2 separate regions of the Homo sapiens genome follow, and region 1 is linked to region 2. The links are contacts of gene promoters, found by promoter capture Hi-C in blood cells and fetal thymus (Javierre and others, 2016). All regions are on one chromosome and are shown on one strand. Each heading gives the region's core, a stretch centred on a gene start or on the middle of the fragment in contact. The rest is flanking DNA. Distances are from core to core; before and after follow the strand shown.

Region 1 (6,717 bases), core at 229-2,728, 370 kb before region 2:
TGCCTGTCACTCTCCAGGGCCTTCCCTCACTATCCCATGGTCCTTACTTTCTCTATGCCAAGTCCCATCTTCTGATGTGACATACACATTTTTTTTTTTTAAAGACAGAGTCTTGCTCTGTCGCCCAGGCAGGAGTGAAGTGGTATGATGTCAGGTCACTGCAACCTCCGCCTCCCGGGTTCAAGCGATTCTAGTGCCTCAGCCTCCCCACGATTACACGATTGTAGGCATGCGCCACATGCCCAGTTAATTTTTTTATTTTTTGTAGAGATGGGGTTTCACCATGTTGGCCAGGCTGGTCTTGAATTCCTGACCTCAAGCAATCCACCCACCTTGGCCTCACAAAGTGCTGGGATTACAGGCATGAGCCACTATGCCCGGTCTATTTTTCTAATTTTATTGTTTTTTTTGAGGGGGGATGGAGTCTAGATCTGTTTCCCAGGCTGGAGTGCAGTGGCGCAGACTCGGCTCACTGCATCCTCTGCCCTGCCTCCTAGGTTCAACTGATTCTCCTGCCTCAGCCTCCTGAGGAGCTGGGATTACAGGCACGTGCCACCATGTCTGGCTAATGTTTGTAATTTTAGTAGAGACAAGGTTTCAACATGTTGGCCAGCCTGGTCTCGAACTCATGACCTCAAGTGATTCACCCGCCTCGGCCTCCCAAAGTGCTGGAATTACAGGCTGACTAATTTTATTGTCTATACATGCAGCCCCAACCAGAATATAAGCTCCATAAAATTGTGGATTTTTGTCTTATTCCCGCTGAATATAACAGCCCATGCCTAGAACAGTGCCTTGCTTTCATGAATATATTACATTCCGGCTGGCGCTTTCCTTCCTCCAATGCATGCACAGCTGAAAAAGCCCTTATCTCCCATCGCACTCCTGTTGCCTTGTCCCATGTTCTGACATAAAGCGGATCATCCACATGTGGGGATGAATCTTGTGCCCCGCTGGAAGAGATCCCTGTGGCTGCCGGCCCTGGTGCCTGGGGTGAGACCTAACAGTAGAGAGCTCACTACTAGGAAAGGAGAGGCATTCCCAACACAGAGAAGTAGGGGCGGACAGGTCCCGAGGCTGGAGGGCGTGTGCAGATGGGTCGGGGGAGCAAGGGGCTGTCAGCTTCATTAAGGCTGAGAGCAGGCAGGAGCGAAACAGCTGGCTTTGCTAGCCAGTTACACACTCACCGCTGTCCACGGATCCCTGACACTGGACGACTGTTGTGCCGGTGGCCCCCCCAGGCTGCTGCAGTCTGAGGAGAAAAGCCAGATGGTGACACTGCGTCTCTCCTGCCCCTTACCTCCAGGCACAGTGAGGGGCCCACCTGGGATATAGGCATCTCCCCGGAGCTGGTCAGGCAGATGGCCCCAGTTGGGGGGCTGTGGACGCCGACTCCTGACCAGGAAGGCGCGGGGCATGCCCTCCGGAAGGCTCTCCACACACAGGGGCTGCTTCCACCTGCTGTCAGACCTCAGCCCCAGGATGACTATCCCTGGTGGGAAAGGAGGGGAAGCCTCTGAGGAACCTCATTCTCTTCATGCAAATTTCCTGGCTGGCCCTGGGAGTGGACTAAGCTGGCTCAGGTTACCCCTGCCTGGGGACCTGCCCATCTTCTCCCAGGTTTTGGAGGGAACCATCCAGCCTCCAGGGGTGGACAAGCACTAGGACCACCAAGCAGAGCCAGGCAAGGGGAGATGGGCCTGGGGAGCTTTTGAGGATAGGAAGAAGAAACAAGGCCCCAGGGGGACTGTCTCCCAGGGGTTGAGGGTCTGTTTGCCAGGCAAATCAGTCACCAGGGGACATCCAGCAGCCTGCCTGGTTATTCAAATCACAGCAGCTGTCTGAGGACACTGAAGGGGCCCCCTGCTGTGATTGCCCTGCTCTGTAGGGTGCAGGGAGGACAGCAGATCTGGATAAATCAGGGCAAAATGAGGATCCAGGCTGTGCATCCTCAGGTAGGATGCCCCACCTCTCTGATCTTCAGATTCCCAGGGCTAACATTCAGCCAGAAGCACTGTTCAGGTGTAGCAGGCACTAAAATACTAGTTTGTTAATAATCTAGCCCCTAGTTACTGCCTGGGACAACACTCTTCCTCCCTCCCACAGTCTGGAAAGTAAAAGGGGGTCTCCTATTTTTTTTTCTTTTTTTGAGACGGAGTTTCACTCTTGTTGCCCAGGCTGGAGTGCAGTGGCACCATCTTGGCTCACTGGAACCTCCACCTCCCGGGTTCAAACGATTCTCCTGCCTCAGCCTCCTGAGTAGCTGGGACTACAGGCATGCACCACCACACCGGGCTAATTTTTGTATTTTTGGTAGAGACAGAGTTTCACCATGTTGGCCAGGCTAGTCTTGAACTCCTGACGTCAAGTGATCCGCCTGCCTTGGCCTCCCAAAGTGCTGGGATTACAGGCATGAGCCACCGCACCTGGCCCAAAGGGGGTCTCTTGACACAGCCAGGGGCTCCCAGGACCCTACCCCGGCACACTGGCCAAGCTGTTTTACACTTGATTCTTAGCCAGAAGACTAAGAAGCAATCCAAGCTCTGTTTTTTAATTTTTTTTTTTTGAGGCGGAGTTTTGCTCGTTGCCCAGGCTGGAGTGCAATGGCGTGATCTTGGCTCCTCTATGACCTCCGCCTCCTGGGTTCAAGTGAGTCTCCTGCCTCAGCCTTCCAAGTAGCTGGGATTACAGGGGCACACCACTGCACCCAGCTGATTTTTTGTGTTTTTTGTAGAGATGGGGTTTCACCATGTTGGCCAGGCTGGTCTCAAACTCCTAAATGCAGGTGATCCGCCCGGCTCAGCCTCCCAAAGTGCTGGGATTACAGGCGTGAGCCACCGCGCCCAACCTGTTTTTATTTTTTTTGTTTTGTTTTGTTTTGTTTTTTGAGACAGATTCTCACTCTGTTGCCCAGGCTGGAGTGCAGTGGTACGATCTCCACACACTGCAGCCTCCGTCTCCTGGGTTCAAGCGATTCTGCTGCCTCAGTCCCCCAAGTAGCTGGGACTACAGGTGCGCACCACCACACCCGGCTAATTTTTGTATTTTTAGTAGAGATAGGGTTTCACCATGTTGGGCAGGCTGGTCTCAAACTCCTGACCTCGAGTGATCCACCTGCCTCAACCTCCCAAAGTGCTGGGATTACAGGCGTGAGCCATTGCGCCTGGCAACTAAACAATTTTCTAAGCTCCAGACCTAGCTTACTGAAAATGATCGCGTAAGTCCATGAAGGAGGCACACCAGTGACAGCCCAGAATGACCAAGACAGTGAGAGGCAAGTGAGGCAGAGACCCAGCCATGATGGGGAAAAGAGGGGTACCTGGGGACCCGAACAGGCTCCTGATCCAGGCTACGGGTACAGGGATGGCTTCCTGGATAAGCGCTGAAAGGTTTCAGATGAAAGGGGAGGGTGTTCTAGTCAGAGGGGGACATCTGTACAAGGCTTGCTGGTGAGAGGAGTATTTCTTCATTTCTTTACATTGCCCGAGAGTCAGTTGTGCCAATTCATTTGGGGAAGCAAGGGTGGCAGTGCTGAGGGTCTGCTGGCCATGCATTTCCGCTTGCTCTCTGCAGGACCCAGAGCAAGTCATTTCTCATTGGGCCTCGGTTTCTTCACCTGGAAAATGAGACTAAGGAATCTCCCTCTTCCCAGTTTGTATTGAAGATCCATGTAGCTCACATGGAGAGAATGCTTAGCATGGGGCCTGGCATGTGGCAGACATATAAGCAGGGATTGGTTAGGAAGGTTTTTTTTTTTTTTTTTTTTTGAGACAGGGCCTTGCTTTGTCACCTAGGCTGGAGTGCAGTGGAGTGAACACAGCTCACTGTAGCCTCAAGCTCCTGGGCTCAAGTGATCCTCCCACATCAACCTCCCAAGTAGCTGGGACTACAGGCGTGCACCACCACACCTAGCTAATTTTAAAATTTTTTGTAGAGGTGGAGTCTTGCTATGTTGCCTAGGGCTGGTTTTGAACTCCTGAGCTCAAACCGTCTGCCTGCCTTGGCCTCCCAAAGTGTTGGGATTACAGGAATGAGCCACTGCATCCTGCCGAGGAATCCCTCCTCTGGGCAAACATCCAGGCCTCAGGTGGGTCATCTGCAAAATGGGGTTTCAGGTGGTGTCTCCATTTTGCAATTGTTGGCTTTCCTGCAGCCCTGACTGGGATGCCTGGCACGGGCCTGGCAGCTCAGGACCCAGGAGCTGTCCTGATGGTACTGCTATGGGGAGGCCAAGGGTAGATGTGGGGGTAGAAGCAGGGGGGGAGTTGCAGTGAAAGATGAACTGTTTTCCTTCCAGGGACCCAGTTCCCCAGGAACCCTCTCAGTCCTGTTCTGCCCTGCTCCATGGCCTAGGAGGTTGACTGGAGGCGGGGTCACCTGGGCTTCTATGCACTCTGGCTTCCAGTAGGATTTGGACAATGGGGTGCCCTGCAGGAGGGGAGTAAGGTCAGGGTGTTGATTCTCACTCCGTCCTGTGTGGGAGTCAGGGCTGCAGCTCCCTCAGCACTACCCTCTCCCTGGGATTTGCTCTTTTGGGTTCTTGTTCCTTCTCTTTGTGCCTTGTGGCCTGGGGGTGGTAACAGCTCCCAGGGTGCCAGTCCTGGGGTTCTGCACCAGCCTCGGTGGTTTCCCAGTCCCTGCTGCTCCTTTGCAAATGATCCCTTGGTTAAACTCTTTGGAATATCCCATCTAAGCATGCTGTCATCTTTCTGCTGGGACCCTGTCAGCTCACAAACCACATGCACACATGCTGCACCACCAGCAGTGGCTTCTTAACCAGGTGGTTTATCCTGGTTAAGAAGTATGGAGAAAGTATGGTCCTTCCAGGACAGAGCCTGGCATTTGGAAGAGGGAAGTGGCAGACATGCTGGATCCTCTCTGATTACCAGCCCACTTGCCTTTCTTATTGAGAGAACCTCTTTGTTTGAGCTGCAACATGCCCAGGACAGGAGAGATGGTCCAAGCACATCAAAGCAATCTCCATTCCTGTTGCCTGGGACTCATCTGACCCCAGATGAGTCTCCCAGGGAGACCCCTGGGAGAGATCTGCATCTTTTCTGCTGCCCTAGAGGGTGCCCTGCTCTGTGCCTTTGCTCCTGGTTGGACCAGGCCACCCAGCAGCTGGGACCAATAACTTGGGCCTCTGACCCTCATGTCATTGTGCACCTGGCCTCTTCCTCTCCTGCTGTCACCCTCTGTGAGCCCCCTGCACTCCACATCTAACCTCAGCCTCCCCATAGCAGTACTATCGGGGCAGCTTCTAGCTCCTGCGCTTCCAGGCTTATGCCAGGCACTTCAGTCAGGGCTGCAGGAAAGCCAACAATTGCAAAATGGAGACACCACCTGAGGGTGTGCTGCTGGGTGCCACAGCAGCCGTGTTGCAACCATGAGGCCATAAGCTGGAGACTGAAGCTTGCTCACAGAGGATAACAGAGCAGGAGAGGAAGAGGCCAGGTGCATGATGACATCAAGGGTAACCAACGTCCCTCCATCTTGGGCCCTGAAAGCCAGGTGTTTACTCCTTGGAGCAGAAGACTTTACTATGATACAGGTTGGAAGGAAGGGTAATTCCATGCATGACAGAGGCCCAAGGTGGTCTCCTGGGTGTCCGAGGCCTGGGGGGCTGAACACCAAGCTTTGCCCAGGGATGTTGGGCAAGGTTTTGGGCAATGGTGGCCGAACTAGGCAGATGGGCCTAGGCCTAGGCAGGTGGTTCAAGTTCTGGACCACCTGGACTCCCTGAGGCAGAGTCGTGAGAAATAAGCAACACTGGATATCCCCCAAACATTAAGAGCAGAGATTTAGAAACAAACCCAAAAACAAAAAACTGTTCTGGATATTCCTTGGACTTAAATGTTATGAAGCAACAAGGCCCTGCTCCTCCTTGCACCTCAGCTCCTGCCCTCCCCTTGCTCACTCCATTCCAGCCGTCCGGGCTTCGCTCCTCTTGCTTCCACACAGATCACGTGTGGCTGCCCCAGGCCTGTGCACTGGCTGTGCTGTCGGCCTGGATGTGTTCCTGAGATGTCCTCTATCAAGCTTCAGCCCAAATGTCACCTCGAAAGGCCTTCCCTGACCCTTCACCAGCAATGGATCTCCCCAACCTATCTAGAATTATACAGAGCTCTAATTCCTGCATCTGTTTGACTGTATAGAAGGTGAGTGGCCATGAGGGCAGGTGCGTTGCCTGATGTTCCTTCTGCTACAGTGCCCGGCACCTGGGTGGGAACTGGCAGGATTTTTTTTTTTTTTTTTTTTGAGACTTGCTGTGTCACCCAGGCTGAAGTACAATGATGGTGTGATCTCAGCTCACTGAAACCTCTGCCTCCTGGGTTTGAGCGATTCTCCTGCCTCAACCTCCTGAGTAGCTGGGACTACAGGTGTGCACCACCACACCCCAGCCAAGAGTGGCTTTTTTAGCAGACACCCCATGTGGCCAGATGCCTGCTGTCTGGGGGAGCTGGTAGCAGTGCTGGGAGCTCGTGGAATGTAGAACTTCTGAAGGGGAAGCAGTTATTGGTCCCAGCTGCTCGTGGCCTGGGCCTGCTGCCAGGATCATACAGTGGGCAAGCCTGCCTGGGTTTCTTGTTTTATTTTGTTTTATTTAAAGAGACGGGGTTTTGGCCAGGTGCGGTGGCTCATGCCTGTAATCCCAGCACTTTGGGAGGCCGAGGTGGGCGGATCTCCCAAGGTCAGGAGTTTGAGACCAGCCTGGCC
Region 2 (5,372 bases), core at 1,495-3,994:
ACTTTAAGATCGGGGTCTGCCGGCACGGGGACCGGTGCTCCCGGCTTCACAACAAGCCGACATTCAGCCAGGTGAGACCCGGCACGGAGCCTCGGGGGTTAACGGCTCCCTGGCCCTTCCCCTTCTGGGGCCGTCGTCACCATGTCCCGCCTATTCCGGGTTCCTGAGTCCCTCCCCACCGCCCGGCTTTTTTTCTCATTGGACCTTTCTGCAGGCTCCTCCCACCGGTCTTCGTGCCGTTTTCCCGGGAACTTGGTCGCGCCCCCATGCGTACAGGCTACACACGGCGGCTGTTCATCTTTGCCAGTCCCTTCCATCCCGCTGTTCATCCTTGCCAGTCCCCTCCATCCCTTTTCTGGTTTCTTAGGGGCAAAGGATCGCCGATGCACTCATGATGCTTAGGCTGGGGTGTAAGGTTCCACCCCCAACCTTCATGCCTCACTCTCTGTTCATGCAGCCCTGCCCTCTGAGCTCAGGCCCCGCCCCTTTTAAATTCTGTGCAGACCATAGTGCTGCTCAACCTGTACCGGAATCCACAGAACACAGCCCAAACTGCAGACGGATCACACTGTGAGTAAGGGACCAGGCCTGGGGGCAAGGTGAACAGCCCCCAGTAGGCTACACTCTGATTCCACCCTGCCCGCCCCCACCCCAGGTCATGTGAGTGACGTGGAGGTGCAGGAGCACTATGATAGCTTCTTCGAGGTGAGGGTTGGTAGGGGCAGATGGGGTTTCTTGTGGGAGCTCAGCTGAGTTCCTCCCCGTCTTCCACAGGAGGTGTTCACAGAACTGCAGGAGAAGTATGGGGAGATTGAAGAGATGAATGTGTGCGACAACCTTGGGGACCACCTCGTGGGCAACGTCTATGTCAAGGTGCTTGCTGCCCCCCACTTAGGGCCCAGAAGTGGAGGCGTTTCAATGCCTGATGGTGGCCACTGTAGGCTCTCAGCTTGAATTTCATCACTAAATCCAGTCCAGCCCCAGAGCGGGTAGTGAGTCCCCTGAAGATCTCTGAGTTCTCCTGCTGACCCTGACTGACATTTCCTGCAGTTCCGGAGGGAGGAGGATGGAGAGCGGGCCGTGGCTGAACTCAGTAACCGCTGGTTCAACGGGCAGGCTGTGCACGGTGAGCTGTCTCCTGTCACTGACTTCCGGGAGTCATGCTGTCGCCAGTATGAGATGGGGTATGGTAGTTCAAGGGTGGGATGGGCACTTGGAATCCCAGACTTTGAATGCGTGGTAGGGGCTGTCAGTGACAATGGCTTCCTCCATCTCTCTACCCTCTATGCAGGGAATGTACCCGAGGTGGCTTCTGCAACTTCATGCATCTGCGGCCCATTTCCCAGAACCTCCAGAGGCAGCTCTATGGGCGGGGACCCAGGCGCAGGTACCTCAGGACCAGCCTGCTATGTCTCCTCATGTCCTAAGGCCCCTATATCCTCAGATGAGCCTAACCCTAAGCCCCAGTAACCACGTTCCCAAGAATCTTTTTTTTTTTTTTTTTTTTTTGAGATGGAGCCTCACTCTGTTGCCCAGGCTGGAGTGCATTGGCACCATCTTGGTTCATGGCAACTTCCGCCTCCCGGGTTCAAGCAATTCTCTGCCTCAGCCTCCCAAATAGCTGGGATTACAGGCACCTGCCACCATGCCCGGCTAATTTTTGTGTTTTTAGTAGAGATGGGGTTTCACCATCTTGGCCAGGCTGGTCTGAACTCCTAACCTCGTGATCCACCTGCCTCACCCTCCCAAAGTGCTGGGATTACAGGCGTGAGCCACCACTCCCGGCTGACTGTTTTTTTTTTTTTTTTTTTTTTTTTTTTTTGAGACGGAGTTTTGCTCTTCTTCCGCAGGCTGGAGTGCAAAGGCGCAGTCTTGGCTCAGTGCAACCTCTGCCTCCCAGGTTCAAGCAATTCTCCTTTCTCAGCCTCCCAAGTAGCTGGGATTATAGGCACCTGCCACCATGCCTGGCTAATTTTTGTATTTTTAGTAGAGATGGGGTTTCACCACGTTGGCCAGCCTGGTCTCGAACTCCGGACCTCAGGTAATCCACCCATCTCGGCCTCCCAAAGTGTGGGGATTACAGGCGTGAACCACTGCGCCCGGTCATTCCCAAGACTCTTATACCCTAAGAGTAGTTCTGAGCTCCATCTGGAGACCAGTACCTAAGTCCCAATCCCCAAACCAGCCTGAACCCCTAATCCACGACCAGCCTGGATTGCCACCCCTGATACTGGCCACTGAGTTCCCCTGATACTGGCCACTGAGGTCGTGTCTTAGAACTCTAGTTATTTCAGCACCCTCCTGCCTCATCCCAGAGCAGAGAGGCAGGCCTGCAGGATCTCTGCACCACTCCTCAGGGTTCTAACAGAACTCTCAACGCTCCTATTCCCAGGTCACCCCCGAGGTTCCATACTGGCCACCATCCCCGAGAGAGGAACCATCGGTGTTCCCCTGATCACTGGCATGGCCGCTTCTGAGGCCCTGGCCCCCTTACCCTTCACCCCCAACAGGGACAGATGTTCCTGGCAGGACCTCTCCTCAAAGCCCCCTTCACTCTCCTGCCCCATCCTTCCCAGGCTCCCGGGCTCCATAATGTAATCTGTTCAGCATGGAGACCTTCTTCTACCGCCCCTGTCTTAATAAAGCTGCGTGTTTCACTTCGGCATCAACTTGCTTTTGCTGTGGTTTGGCATTTCCCTCCACCCACACATGTGACGAAAAGGGGAAACAAGACTGGGTCCTGGCCACAACTTCAGCTGAGGAACTTGGCACGGCCAGCTTGGGACCCAGGACCCTAACGGTACTGGTAGGGTGGGGACACCTTTGTGCTGAAAACCTTAGCACCTCCATCTGAGGCTTATTCAAGGGGGAGAGACCTGGTTGTGGCAGGTGGGAGGAGCCCTAGCCCCAAGGAGATTAGGATTCAAAGGTGAGGTGAGGTGCTGGGAGGTGGTCTCCAGCCAGTATGGGGCTGACTCCTCCGTGCCTGCCGAATTGTGATGGGAGTTAGTAATGCCTTACACTTAAACACTGAGTTTACTGTATGTGAGGTGCTGTTTTCAGCACTTTAGTTTGTTTTTGTTTTTTTTAAGGAGTTTCATTCCTGTTGCCCAGGCTGGAGTGCAATGGCACGATCTCAGCTCACTGCAGCCTCCACTTCCCAGGTTCAAGCAATTCTGCCTCAGCCTCCCAAGTAGCTGGGATTTACAGGCATGCGCTACCACGCCCGGCTAATTTTGTATTTTTAATAGAGACAGGGTTTCACCATGTAGGCCAGGCTGGTTTTGAACTACTGACCTCAGGTGATCCACCCACCTGGGCCTCCCAAAGTGTTGGGATTACAGGCATGAGCCACTGCGCCCGGCGGCCAGTTTTTTTTGTTTTTAGAGATGAGGTCTTGCTGTGTTGCCCAGGCTGGTCTGTAATTCATGGCTCAAGCAATCCTCCTACCTTGGCCTCCCTAGTAGCAGGGACTACAGACGTGAGCCACTGCACTTGGCAAAGTGCTTTGCTGTTTTTTTTTTTTTTTTTTTTTTTTGTAAAGATGGGGTTTCATTTTGTTGTCCAGGCTGATCTCTCGAACTCCTGGGCTCAAGTGATCCTCCTGTCTTGGCCTCCCAAAGTGTTGGGATTACAGGCATGAGCCACCACACCCAGCCCCTGCTTTACTTCTAATGACGGTTCTAATTCTCCACAATAACCCTATGAGACAGGTGCTATCATTGTCTTATTTTAGGGATGGAAAAGGGAGGGTGGGTGGGTGAGGACACGGCAGAGGTGGGATATGCATTCTTGCAATCTAGATCCGCAGCCCTGTTAGTCCCCTAGTGGCCTTGTGGGCTTCTCTGATAACCGGCTCAGTTGGGGGATGAGGGCTCGGGGGTAGATTCCCGGCTTCCGAAGAGGCGTGAGAATTCTGTTCCCCCACATCACCGCGTCCTTTCTTCTGCCCGATTTCCCCGGAAAGTGTAGCAGAGGCGCTGTGTTTGGAAGTCCCGCTATCACGGCCCCCCAGATGGGGCCTGGACGATGCCTCCTGACGGCCTTGTTGCTTCTGGCCCTGGCGCCACCGCCGGAAGCCTCCCAGTACTGCGGCCGCCTTGAATACTGGAACCCAGACAACAAGTGCTGCAGCAGCTGCCTGCAACGCTTCGGGCCGCCCCCCTGCCCGGGTGAGAATCCGAGACCGAGCCTTGCTTGGGCGGAGCTTGCAGGTGATAGGGAGCGGGGAAGGGGCGAGGTCTGTGGGCTACGGGCCAGAGAGGCTTGCTTAGGGGTCTAAGCGGTGGGCCTTATGCAGATCAGACAGGGATGGCAGGCAGAGCCTGTGCAGATAGTGCGGGCTACCGTAGGGCAACAGCGAATGGATATGGCTGGAGAGGCGGGATAGGGGCCGCGTGGAAAGGGTGGGCTTTATGTAGAGAAGCCGGGAGTGGGCGGAGCTTCGTGCGGAGCAGGCTGGAGGGGGGTGAAAAGGCGAGCCCGGAGAAAAGTGACAAGACCGGGGCGCACGCTAATAGGCTGGAAGCGTCCTGGAGGGGCGGGGCACGCTGGGATAGGGCGAAGGGAGAGGGCGTTGCCCGCGCAGGGGCGGGCTAGGCGGCCGCACTGGAGCGCAGCTTTCCCGCTAGACTATGAGTTCCGGGAAAACTGCGGACTCAATGACCACGGCGATTTCGTAACGCCCCCGTTCCGAAAGTGTTCTTCTGGGCAGTGCAACCCCGACGGCGCGGAGCTATGTAGCCCCTGCGGCGGCGGAGCCGTGACCCCTACTCCCGCCGCGGGCGGGGGCAGAACCCCGTGGCGCTGCAGAGAGGTGCAGATGGGACTCCCGGCAGGGCAAGGGCGTGCTGGAGGTGGGGGGCCTAGATGTAGGGAGCCGGCGTAGCCCCACGTAAGGGGTGGGGCCGTGGTTTCAGGAGGTGGCTGGCCTGCAGGGGTCGGGAGGTCCTAGGTTAAGGTAGTTGGGCCTTGCGGGGCCCAACTACCTTATCAGATACCGTATCAGATGGGATGTGGCCCCATTAAAGGATATAAAGTTGGGAGGTTTGGGAGCGGGCAGGAGTGGAGTGTGGCCTCCAGCTTTACTCCAACCCCTTATCCCCAGAGGCCGGTCCCTGCCAAGGGGCACTGCCCCCTCACACCTGGAAACCCAGGCGCCCCTAGCTCCCAGGAGCGCAGCTCACCAGCAAGTTCCATTGCCTGGAGGACCCCTGAGCCTGTCCCTCAGCAGGCCTGGCCGAATTTCCTTCCGCTCGTGGTGCTGGTCCTGCTCCTGACCTTGGCGGTGATAGCGATCCTCCTGTTTATTCTGCTCTGGCATCTCTGCTGGCCCAAGGAGAAAGCCGACCCCTATCCCTATCCTGGCTTGG

The links. Contacts are between HindIII fragments. The CHiCAGO score rates a contact against its expected background, and 5 or more counts as called.
Region 1: a contact is called between the fragment with the promoter of OVOL3 here and the fragment with the promoter of IGFLR1 in region 2, in 1 of 17 cell types (neutrophils). The highest score is 5.3, in neutrophils.

What each region holds. Positions count from the first base shown.
Region 1 is chr19:36,105,904-36,112,620 of GRCh38, reverse strand. It overlaps OVOL3 (ovo like zinc finger 3), which reads right to left and starts at 1,478. Exons shown (of 4, transcript NM_001302757.2): 1 at 1,325-1,478; 2 at 1,188-1,252. The coding sequence starts at 1,418. It also overlaps a transcript of WDR62 not described here. RefSeq lists enhancers at 619-1,248, 1,249-1,879. The HindIII fragment of the contact is 18,213 bases long and covers 1-5,414 here.
Region 2 is chr19:35,739,824-35,745,195 of GRCh38, reverse strand. IGFLR1 (IGF like family receptor 1) reads left to right here and starts at 2,744. Exons shown (of 5, transcript NM_024660.4): 1 at 2,744-2,800; 2 at 3,973-4,172; 3 at 4,632-4,816; 4 at 5,108-5,372. The coding sequence starts at 4,016. It overlaps U2AF1L4 (U2 small nuclear RNA auxiliary factor 1 like 4), which reads left to right. Exons shown (of 6, transcript NM_001040425.3): 2 at 1-71; 3 at 775-873; 4 at 1,051-1,184; 5 at 1,292-1,387; 6 at 2,393-2,669. The coding sequence ends at 2,477. RefSeq lists silencers at 1,066-1,226, 4,529-4,658 and enhancers at 2,562-2,991, 4,339-4,448, 4,796-5,372. The HindIII fragment of the contact is 10,043 bases long and covers 1-5,372 here.